2 separate regions of the Homo sapiens genome follow, and region 1 is linked to region 2. Evidence: promoter capture Hi-C in human tissues and cell types (Jung and others, 2019). All regions are on one chromosome and are shown on one strand. Each heading gives the region's core, a stretch centred on a gene start or on the middle of the fragment in contact. The rest is flanking DNA. Distances are from core to core; before and after follow the strand shown. Region 1 overlaps PTPRO (protein tyrosine phosphatase receptor type O). Region 2 holds the start of PTPRO (protein tyrosine phosphatase receptor type O).

Evidence for each region. The method cuts DNA at HindIII sites, captures the fragments that hold promoters and counts their contacts. A contact is called where the count stands out against the background at its distance.
Region 1: a fragment that was not itself captured here is called in contact with the fragment with the promoter of PTPRO in region 2 in 2 of the 25 tissues and cell types used here (hippocampus and mesendoderm cells).

Annotation. Positions count from the first base shown.
Region 1 is chr12:15,418,245-15,424,264 of GRCh38, forward strand. The region is part of intron 1 of PTPRO (protein tyrosine phosphatase receptor type O); the gene reads left to right. Among named protein-coding and RNA genes, the nearest start is that of PTPRO, 99 kb to the left of the region's middle. The HindIII fragment of the contact is 4,296 bases long and covers 1-3,839 here.
Region 2 is chr12:15,317,999-15,324,282 of GRCh38, forward strand. PTPRO (protein tyrosine phosphatase receptor type O) reads left to right here and starts at 4,510. Exons shown (of 27, transcript NM_030667.3): 1 at 4,510-4,803. The coding sequence starts at 4,729. The region is part of intron 2 of LOC105369673 (a long non-coding RNA gene); the gene reads right to left. The HindIII fragment of the contact is 7,625 bases long and covers 2,781-6,284 here.

The DNA of each region.
Region 1 (6,020 bases), core at 442-2,941, 97 kb after region 2:
GTTAATCACAACAGGCCCTACATATTAGAGCACAAATTAATTATGGCTATAGATTAACTGCTTTGTTAACTCCATAATTTCTCTGGGGTTCACAGCTAGATTCCCAGTACCTGGCACAGAGATGGCCTTCAGTGTCTGTTGAGTGAATGAAGTGCCTAGCTCAACTCTCATTGTTTACCTGTTGTTGTAGTTGTTTCTTCTGGCTTGGATTTCTAAAGCTCCTGAGGTATAGATACTGTTGATTTTACCTAAAGAGGCTTCAGCAGAAGAGAACAATCACACAAGAACTAGAAAAGACAAGGAAGGTTTTATGAGGAAAATGAACATTAATCTAGAATTTGAAGGAAAAATGGGACCCACATCAGCATCATAGAGAAAAGGGGATTCCTGGCAAGGAGAACATGGAATTTTGTGGAATGCACAGAATGTAGGAGGTAGGAATACATATGGCATTTCAAGGAATGAGTGTGCCATACGTCAGCCAAAGGCTGAGGCAATGGAGTACTGGGAGGAAGTGTTAAGAATTATGGATGGACCAGATTCTTACTTTAACATCTTTTTTTTCCCCTAAGCCTAATGTGCTTCCAAACTTGCCTCTTTTATTAAATGATATTCATAACAAAAGCAATACTAAAGTCCTTCCTTGCCTGTTTCCTCTACACACATAAAAATTAAACATTTAAATAAAAGTAGAAAAATTGTGACACTTTTTTAAAGCTTCAAGAGTAAGATTTCACATACAGATGACACATTTTCTACAATGTAAAATTTAGAGCATTACTAACGCATATTAAATGCTAGATCAGTCTTTCAAGTTACAGTACACAGAAGATAAAAATAGGTGCGATTTGGAAAGAACAAAGGTGAACTCGAAGCATACAGTGAATAGGCACAAATCAGCTACAAATTTTAGCAGATATTCATGCGCTTATTGAAATAAGCCACCTTTTCCTGCATTTGTGCCGACAAGTCCATTTATCCTTTTTAAGATGCTCCAGTAACGATAGGAGCATTTTGGGGGCGGGGGAGGGGGGCTAATTGATGTGATCTAATTTTTCAGACTCAGGAGTTTTGGAGAAAGGTCAGTGTAACAGAAAAGCTGCCCATTAGAAATAACATCTATAAACTGTCAGAAAAGAGTGCAAGCCAGAAGATGAAGCAATTCAGATTGCTTCCCTTCTTTTCCAAGGTTCTTGGGAAAAAAATTTCATTACGCATAAGAAGTATAGCTAAATACTTAACTGAAGTTAAAACAAAATCATGTTTTCTAACAGTTCAGGTGAATTTCAAGCCATCCAGGCCACAAGATAATGATGTCCTCCAAGTCTGACCTACAGGGAACTTTTCTTCTAATTAATAAACAGACTACAGCAAGAAAATTAATTTATGCACCGCATTTACTTGTTGATGCCCTTCGAGAGCATAACATTTCAGTAGGCACTGTGTACACGAGATACAGCAGAAGAATACGTCAAAGCTAGTTCTTTGGTGTTTTTTTTTTCCCAGAGAAAATAGAGGTAATCCAACATTAGACAGAATTTGTCGAGATTACTAGATGTACATTCAAAACATCCATTCAACAAACCAATTGAATTAGTTGCATATAAGAGTGTCCCCTCTGGGCCGGGTGCAGTGGCTCACGCCTGTAATCCCAGCACTTTGGGAGGCTGAGGTGGGTGGATCACGAGGTCAGGAGATCGAGACAATCGTGGCTGACACGGTGAAACCCCGTCTCTACTAAAAATACAAAAAATTAGCTGGGCGCGGTGGCGGGCGCCCATAGTCCCAGCTACTCGGGAGGCTGAGGCAGGAGAACGGTGTGAAACCGGGAGGCGGAGCTTGCAGTGAGCGGAGATCGCACCACTGCACTCTAGCCTGGGCGAAAGAGCGAGACTCCGACTCAGAAAAAAAAAAAAAAAAAAAAAAAGAGTGTCCCCTCTGAATTGTACTCTTCAGGATTCCCTGGGTGCCTTTTTAAAATTTAAGTCTGCTACTGCCTCTTTCATAACTTATGGGGCAGAGCCCTAATTCCTTAGCATGTCATGAGAACTTCCAAATCCAGGTTCTGCCTGCTTATTCAATCTGGTTCCACTCTCATGCCAGCCACTTCATACCTAATCCTCCACCATTGCTACCGCCAGTGTCTGAATGCATCTCACCTGCGTGCATTTTACCAAGATTCTCCCACTGCCTGGAATGAGACCACACCTTTTTCACCCTGAAACACAGCCATTCCAATTGTGGAAACTCAACTCAGGCACCTGTTCCTTCCCGTCTTACCACATTTCCTGACCAACTCATGCCACCATTGAATGGCCCCTTAAGCTTAAGTCCTCTTATTTTTGCAGTGATTAGACGAAATACTATATGTAAATTATTTAGCACCATGTCTGACAGTAGTAAATAACTATCATTATATCACATGTTATTATAACTACACTGGAGAGACAATATAACATGGTGGCTAAATGAGTAAAACTTGACATCATACTGCCTATCTTTCAGTACTTATTGTTCTGTGAATTTGTCAAGTTAATGGGCCCTCCCTTCTGGGTCAGTTTTCTTACCTGCAAAATGGGTACAATAATAGTTTCTACCTCACGGGGCGTTTGTAAGAGTTGAATGAGTTAGCACAGAAAAAGCACTTAGTGTCTACCACATACTAAGTATGCAATAAATGTTAACTGTGCTGCTGCTGATGATGTACTTTTTAAACACTTTAATAAAAAATTTCAAATATATGCAAAATTAGAGACAGTGGTATGCATATACTGAACACCCAGCTTTAGCAATTATCAAATTTTGCCATTATTGTTTATTTATCTATTTCTCTTTGGTCTATTTTTCATTAATGTAGTATTTTAAAGCAAATTCCAGACATTATCATCAGTTTCCCTTTAAATGCTTCTCTAAACAATGATGACTTTCTACATAGAACCACAGTTCCTTTTACATCCCTATCTTGCAAATACGTCTAAATAGGATATTTCATTTAACTTACTTATTTTCCTATCTTTCCTTCTGGGCTGTAAATCCTTGAAACCAGTGGTTGTGATATTTAATTCATTTAAGCTGTAATTCACTGGCTAGAACACGGTAGTAGTGCAATAAATGTACTTTTTAAAGAGAGAGAGGGAAGTAAAAAAGAGAGAAGGGAGAGAGTTAAGGAGAGAGGGAATAGGAAGGGCTCACATAACAAAATAAGACATTAAACAAATGTTGACCTTAGAATAGGCATAGTACAACTAGTGCCTGAATAAGCAGTAAGTACCAAATGCTGTGATCCTAGAGAGGTGTCTCAGAAACCTATGCATAGCCAAGTTTAATTTGCCAGCAGGTTTTTACTTCATTGACTGGTCAGGTAGAGAAGAAGAAAGCAAAAATAAAAGAGTGTATTATTCTGTATCACAATGGTATCAGATTGTTTATTTTGGAGTCTGTGTCTATTTCTCATTTCCAATAATTTATGATATCATTTACCATTATTAAAGGAACCTTATTTTTAAAGCCCTGTGACACCTAGTGTGAAGCAGAAGAGTTTGCAAAGTTTAAACATCATATTGTTAAATTCTGGAGTGGCTTTAACTAGCTGTGTGATCTTGGGCAAGTTACTTGCTTTCTCTGCTTCAGTTCTTCATTTTTAAAGTGTGACAGGATTAGCACCTATCTCATAGGCATGACATGCTTAGAACAATACCTGATACATGAAAAGAATTTTTAAAATTTTATTTATTATCTAGTTATAAGAGAACAATGAAATAAAACAAATATGAAGCTCGCCCATTTAAAGAAAAAAAAAAGAATGATTTCATTGAAGATACTTCCTCTGCCATGGAATTGCTAAATGAAACTTTGCAGCAATTCCAAAATAACTTGCCCCAGGGAGTAGGATTGGATTTTGCTAAACTGAGGATTTAAGATTTACAATTTTTTGACTGTAATTCATTCTTACCTCTGCCAAATGTGATTGCAAAGGGAAAGAAGACATCATAATTGTACGAAAGGGTTTTAACCAGGTTTTCTTGTTTTTTGTTTGTTTGTTTTTACTAATTGTTTCAGGGCATTTGAGGCAATTGTAAGAGCTTACACATGGTAACCACTACATAAATATTAAAATGATGGCTTGGTACAAAAATGACTTTATGATTAATAAAATCACAAAAACTTGGAAAAAGAGTTATAAAAATTCTCCATAATTGAGTGCCAACTTTGGGCCTAATGTTTTATATAGTAGGTAGAACCCAATAACTGCCAATTATTTGGCAGTTTTGATGTTAGAAAAGGCCACGGGATAAAGTTCGGACAAAATACATTTTTTCTATTCCTCCAGATAGTAGGGTTCTCATTTTTCACAGAGGAAATTAGGGTTTAGATAGATAGGGGACTTGTATAAACCACATGCTACAAAGCGACCATGTAGAAACGTGAGCCCAGGTTTTCAGGCTCATCTTATTAGTGGCTAATTCCAATGTCCTTTGCATATTTAGGAAATGTTTGCTATAATAAAGAAGCTGGGCAATAAGATATTAAATATTTTGAAAAGGGTAAATATTTAGTGATTTATCAAAGGAAGCACAAAGCACTGAGTACTTTAGCAGAAGAAATGGATTAAAGATGTGAGACCCATGTCACATAAACCAAAGACCATTTCTCCTCCAGATAATAATGAGATTGTCACATCTATCAATTTCTATGTATGTATTCCATTGTACATCCTCTCTCCCTAAATTTTAAAAAGTTATGATCATGTTGATATGCAAAGGGAATTTATGTGTTTGTTTAACTTTTTGAGGAGAAAGTGAGAAAGAGAAAATATTTTACATTCCAGGAGAGAAGCACTTTAGAGAAATTGAAGCAAAAACTGGGAAGAAGTCAGGGCCAACTGGTGGAAAGTCCCCCAGGATGCAAGAGAGGAGCACTGAGCCCTGACCTACTTCTCACTAATTGCTGCAAACCTCCCATAAATTCCTTGCCCTTCCTGGTCTTCAGATTCCTCTTCTATAAAACAAGATGGCTGGGGAAAGACTCTCTGAGGTTTCTTGGAGTTTTTACAATTTACCGATCTTGTGAAATTAGACCATTAATTATCTTTTAAATGTATGTTTTACAAAGTGTTAAGATGGAAGAAATAAACTGGTAAAATATAAGATGGTTTGTAATCATAAATATTTTCCATATTTAATTATAGTTTATTTCTCATAGAAGTGTAAATTGAGGTGGGTTACAGTGTTAAAACAATATTAGACCAGTTTGAAAAAAAAAAGCTAGAAAGTTCTATGCACTTACATATTTTGTGATAATCAGATATTAGTCACCATTCTTTATATAAACCCAATGTTACTAATTACTTAAGCTTTAAGATGAATGCCAACATTTTGATTTATTCACATCCATAACATAATTTGGAGAACCTAGAAATTTTTTTGTTTTTACATTTGTGCAATGACATTTCAGGTTTGGTTTTAGACTTCCTTCTTTTCTTTCAACATGATGCTGAGAAACACAAGTAATAGGATAATCACAGGTTCATTCCTAGCCATCGCTTTTGCCTGTCAATATCCTAATTACTTCCCTACTCCACTTAGATGACTCAGAGTCCATGCCATGAATACTGATGATGAGAGATGATGCAATGGGGAGAACTTATTGTAGCTCCATCCTGTCCTTTAACTTTCATTGTTTCTCCAGCCAAGAATTTAAGGGCACAAGTTAGAGGAGAGTCTGGTCATCAAAATAAAATTCGTTAGCCTTTTAAAATATGTCAGGCTAATAGGACAAGCAGCCTGCAAGGAGAAGCATCCCTGACTTTGCTGGACAGCATTTCCAATTATCAGCATCTTCTGGCATTTTAAGTTATAACTGAATATTCTCAAATAAATGTTGCAAGAATATGAAGTGTAGCATAAGTATTATCTTTTCAGTGAAATCTATTCTTATTTATTTACATAGAGTGTATTCTATTTTAAATTATATATTTATGGACATAAAATTCACATATTTGACAAGTTTTTTGAAGAGGC
Region 2 (6,284 bases), core at 3,260-5,759:
ACCTAGTTATGAAGAAAAGCTAAATTAGTAAATGATAGCAATGTCTGGAACATTCAGAAAAAATATTTTAGAAGTTCATTAGTCAAGGCATTTCATATAAATAAAATATGAGATAAAATCATATAACTTAAGGCTAATGCCTTTTATTAAAGTTTTAGAGCAATTAAATGAAATGCTAGCAACAAACAGAATCCTAGTATATGACTGAATGAAGGTATAATATCTAAAAACACGACAATCTGCATTTCTAATGTAGGGCTGTTTATCCTATAGCCTGTAATTTGTGTCCAGTGATATATATCTGCATATCTGCTCACACTTTCTATGTATGTTTCCTTATTTCTTTAAGTATATAATTTTGTGTTGTAAGACATATCTTGTAATGCAATATTCTTATTTGATTTTCTTTAAGACATGTAAGAGTCAAGTACAAGTAAGATAGGTCTCTTAATAGGAATCTTTTGCGGCGGGAGAGGGGAATATAATGGGAAAAGACTCTCCAAGTAAAAGCAAAAATGACCTTCTTTAGCGTATTTCCACTGTTTTTCAAGTGCAGCAAGAGTAATAAGTCTTGGCAGTTGGAACATGCCATTCACCTGAGGGCTGTCAATCGTTCTCATTTTGAAAGACACAAAACTTATGAATTGTCAACACATCATTTAGGTGAGAAACCAGTGCTCATCAAGAGAAAAAATTAAAACAAATGCTCAAATAAATAGAAAATCAAAATGCTTCCTGGTCATTTTCTTCCAAGAGCTTAATACAGATAATCTACAGTTCATATGCTATAAAAATTGTAACATGTGAGATATGGACAACAAACTGAATGGCTATTACTTTTCCAATGGAATAGAGTCTAGAGAACAATTGCTTGAATTTTTCTTTCTATTCCATATAAAGTAAATTATTTGTCATTGAGCATCCCCCATAAATACAATTATCTAATACTGAAACTGCTGACAGCCTTGTAGGCTATTTCAGTAGTGGAAGCCAGGACTAAACACACTCAACTACATTAGAGGTTGTCCCTGGAGGACAGAATTGAGCTTCATTGGCAAGGGCACCGTAAGAGTTCCATTTGACTCCTCATTAAACCTCTCACAGGGATTCTAGCTGCTTCTCTGTGTCTGCGCTTGCTTTTCTATAGAAGAGATAGATGTGAACCACGTAGGCAAAGATACATTTCTACATATTTAGGAAAAGATCGCTTTTCTTGGTAAAAACTAAGCCTCCTATAGATTTTAAAAAGACCTTCCAGTTTCATGATCATTAACCACCTTTTTATAATTTTCAAAGGAAGTAGAGAGCTTTATTTCAATTTGTGAGAACTTATTTTTCAATGCTTGTTTTATGGCATGTCAGAGATATTATTATTTTTCTGTGTTTATTTTTTCTCCAGGAAAAGTAGCATTAGGGGAAAACAGTTGGTGATAATGATCTCAGCCTTCTTTACCTAACAATGTGGTTGTCATAATGAAATCTGGACCAATATGTAGAAGCAATTGGTGAAACATAAATTACTATATGCACTGTATGTTGCCCCTGGCTGTTTTGTTGATTTGGAGTCTTGAAAATAGCATAATAAGATTTATCATACTTTGGAAGTATTGTATTGAAAAACCAGTCAATAGCTCAAAGAAACACAAAACATGCTCTATGAATTGAAAACCCCACACTGTGGATGACACAGCATTCACATTCTTTATGAGAATCTCTTCTAGGACACTGTTATGGTTTAAGTGCAATAAAAACAAATGAAAGTATTTTATCCAGCAATAGCAATGTAAAATACTTTTCTCTAGAGAGGAAATTTTCTGTGATTATAAAATAATACTTTCAGTCTTCAGCCCATCTAACCACAATGTTACTAATAAAATAACAACAATGCCAATTACTAATGCTTTACTACTTACTGTTTACTGTTATTGTTCCTCCAAAGTGGTCCACATAATATATATATATATATATATATATATACATATATATATATATGCACAAAGACAGAAAGAGCTGAACAAATTGTGATGTATGACTAAGAGAAAAACAGAAAGACGCAGCAGAATATGATTATTTAAAAGGGAGCCTCATTGTGAAAGTTCTTTTAGCATTTACAAGATTAATTTATGATCAGAACTGCTTTAAACGCCCTACGCACATCAGGCAAGGCTATATCCATGTATACACACAGACATATGCATACACACAAATGAATATCATCATACAGACCCATAATTCACAGACACATTTTAAAATTAAATGCTACTCCAAAGAGAAATTGTTGGCATCCTGTGAGTGTGATTGTTGCCCTTGGCCTATATATATCTTATGTTCTAGAGATTAGATCACTTTACAGCCACTTCTGAGGGCGAGTGGGAATAAAATGCTGCTTCAGGAGCGTCAAAATAAAAAGAAAACATATTAAACCAAAGTTCCTATAAGTGCAATCCCAAGGATTAAATGTTCAGATAGCCCGTAAGTCTAACCCAGAGGGAGGGAGGAGCAGTTAACATTTTCTCAAAAGAAAGAAAATGTCCAAACCAATGATGAGTGGACATGAGGGACCTGAAGAGAGCATGTGATGGGAATGTGAAAACAAAAGAAGCTTCTAAAAGAAGACACCAAGGATAATATTCTCACAAAAATTCAGACCATCATTCTATATTTTCATGCATATGAATTTTGGTACATATTTCATGCATATGAAATTTGGTACATATATACATATATGTACCATGCATATACATATGCGTACATATACATATACGTATGCATACACATATGTATCTATGTACACACATACACATATGTGTACACACATATGTACATGCACACACATATGTGTACACATATGTACATGCACACACATGTGTGTACACATATGTACATGTACACATATGTGTACATGTACACATGTGTATATATACATATTCACACTTATGTAAACATATTCAATCTAAAGCTTCCTTAAGACACATACAAACAACAACCAAATGATTAGTGTTTGGCCATTGCTCATGCAGCAAAAGCTGAGTAAACACAGCTCTGGATCCTTTTCTCAGGCCACCACTCCCTAGCTGTGTGACTGACAAAGTCTATGCCTGAACACCTACATTCATGACCAGGGTGGCCTTTCCTGTCTCCTGTTGCCCAAGCATGTCTCAGGTATAAATAAGTTCCAATACTGACAGGGCACAGCAAGGGTAATTTACATGACAATAAGAAATGATTTCTATCTGAACAGTGCATACCAGAGTTGATTTCGACAGACTTATCTTTAAAAAAATACACATAACAAAAAAGGAGACAAGTAGTAGATTGGGGACCCACAGCTTGAAAGTCGTTGCTTGTGATTCTAAAACATCCCAGTAAAATTATTCACAGATAATTGTTTAAAAATATAACTGTACATACCGTTGACACTTGGACAACACAGAGAATCACGTAGTTGAAAATCCACATATAACTTTGAACTCATCAAAACCTTAACTACTAATAGCCTACTCTTGACCGGAAACCTTACTGATAACATAATAAACAGTTGATTAACACACATTTTGTGTTGTATGTATTGTATACTGTATTCTTACAATAAAGTACGCTAGAGAACAGAAAATATTATTAAGAAAACCATAAAGAGGAGAAAATACATTTATATTCATTGAGTGGAAGTGAATTATCATAAAAGTCTTTAACGTCATCCTTTTCAGGCTGAGCAGGCAGAGGAGGAGGAAGAGGGTTTGGTCTTGCTGTCTCAAGGCTGGCAAAGGTGGAAGAAAATCTGCATATAACTGGACCCAACAGTTCAAACCCGTGTTGTTCAAGGGTCATACATGTAAAATACTGTGATTTTTCCCCCTTCTATATTCAGCTTCAGGTGACCCGACACACTTTGGTATCAAAAGAGAATCTGAAATGTACAAGAACTGCGGATTTCAAATGGAAAAGGTGCATAATTGTGCTATTTGTTCCTGGGTGAGTGTGGGACGGAGACGGTGAGAGTGTTGAAATGGGATGGAGATAATGGAAGCAGTGGGGAAGGAGAGAAAATACCCTTCCTATCACACACACTCACACACTCACACTACACACTATTTCTACAGTCACAACTACCCAACTGTTATTGATCCTTTATAACTGCAATTGAGTACAGATGTAGGAAGATTGAGAGGGAACTGGGATCTGGCGCCTGGATTGCTCAAGAGAGGTCAGGGAAACCCCTCAGAACTCCTGAGACCCAGAGATTGAGGGAGGGGTTGAGGCGGAGTCTGCAATGGGGGCTGTCCAGCAGTAGCAAGCAGCGGGCCGATCCTGGTGGAGGGTTGGGAGGCTGCTGTCATTTTATGGGTCGGCAGCCAGAGTGAGAGTGTCCCTGCTGCCAGAGGACTACGGCGGGCTGGGCGCGGGGTCCCCGCCTCTCGCTCACCACACAGACCCCGCGCCTCCTCTGGCAGCCGCGGTGGTGGCGGCGGCAGAGCCTCGCCCACTCCAATCCCCACCCTCTCCATCCTTAGTCATTAAAGAACAGCAGCGCCTGGCACGTTCTTGGAGGACCCCGGGCGCAGAGGAGGAAAGGGAGCAGGCGCAGGGGGACTGGAAAGGCAGCATGCGCTCGCCAGGAGCAACCTCGGCGCCCAGGGTCTGAGGCTGCAGCCCCAGTTCGCCATTGTGAGCCGCCGCCGGGGGAGTCCGCTAGCGCAGCCGTGCCCCCGAGTCCCCGTCCGCGCAGCGATGGGGCACCTGCCCACGGGGATACACGGCGCCCGCCGCCTCCTGCCTCTGCTCTGGCTCTTTGTGCTGTTCAAGGTAGGGGAGCTCCTCCACCCCTTTTTCCCAGCGGTCCGGGCGGCAGCCGCGCTCCGGCGCCCTCGCTCTGCCGTTGGGAGCGGCGCGCCCCAGGGCACGATGGCCCAGCCGCGGGAAGCGCCTGCCGTGCAGCCTGGGCGCACGCTTTGTTGTCCTCGCGTGTGCGTGTTCCTGGTGGTCTTGAGAGGTAGGGGGCGGGGGGAAGAATAAGGGAAGTTTGCTCCCTCCGGCTTTCGCCCTTTGTGCTCTTTTATCGCTGCTGAAATCCACATCAAAGGTGGGCTTGTTGGATCGTGCTTTCTCAGGCAAAATGAGGTCACTTTCTTTTCTGGTTTCCACTGCACCCCAACGCTGCTTAACCTTTCCGCCCTCCCTCGCACAGAATGCTTTGTCTTAATTTTCCTTACTGCTGGAATTATACACTGGAGAGTGGAGGGGGACTGAGCTCCCTGGACACAAATGGACTGCCAGGGCTACGTTAGGGCAGAATTTTCTTTGAATAAGGAGTGTCAGGTAGAGAGCTTGGTAAGGATTCCTCTCCCCAACTCCTATCAACATCTTTACAATTCCTTTTAAAAAGTCTCCAGACTTTCTCCACTATATTTACAGATGATATTACCCCTAGATTTAATGGTGGAAAAATATATAATAATAAACTTTTTCGTATCTTCTTTGGAATGTGCTACCCTGAGGTTTTACTTTGAGAAAAATGAAAAGCAAAGGAGTTGCTTTTGAAAAATCAGTTTGACAACTATACTGTACATAAATTTTTTTGAAGAAATGTCAGCTAGATGTTTTCTTGGACGGCGATGTGAAGTTCTGAAGTGATTGTCTATCACTCATGTCTTCAGTGGATCTACTTTAGTTCTGTTGTTAGTCTTTTCCTCTCTCCGCAAAGCAAACTCAAGAATGTCGACAGGTGACTTGGAGCTATCCTTTCAGGACCACAGTGATACCTTCCCTAGAAATGGATGCCAGGTTAATGGATCCAAAGGTTTTCTTATTATAGAGTCACTTCTTGCTTATATGCACCATTAATTATGAATGCCTAAAAAGAATATAATGGAACAGGACCAATGGATTAAGAACAGCATTACTTTTAAATACTCCATATTTTCATTTATCTTAATGAAAAATATAAAAAAAATTCAGGGAGAAACAGCAACAGAATGCCTAAGTAAGACCTTAAAATATATTTAATATGTTTTAACATTTTTTCTTAAATTATCAATAATCATTAATTTTAAAGTATGGTAAATAATAAGCTCAGTTATATGTTTTTACTGTAGGAGGTTGTTCTTTCATACACATCATAAATGCATTAGACTTATTAGGTTGTCTATTAGTCGTTTTCTAACTATTTATCAAACTGTCACAACTATTTTACCTATGCAATAATTGTCATGAACCAAAAATTAGAAACCAAGTCACTATGCATTTTACGAGCAACAGCTAAGAGTTATATGTATGACATCTGATCC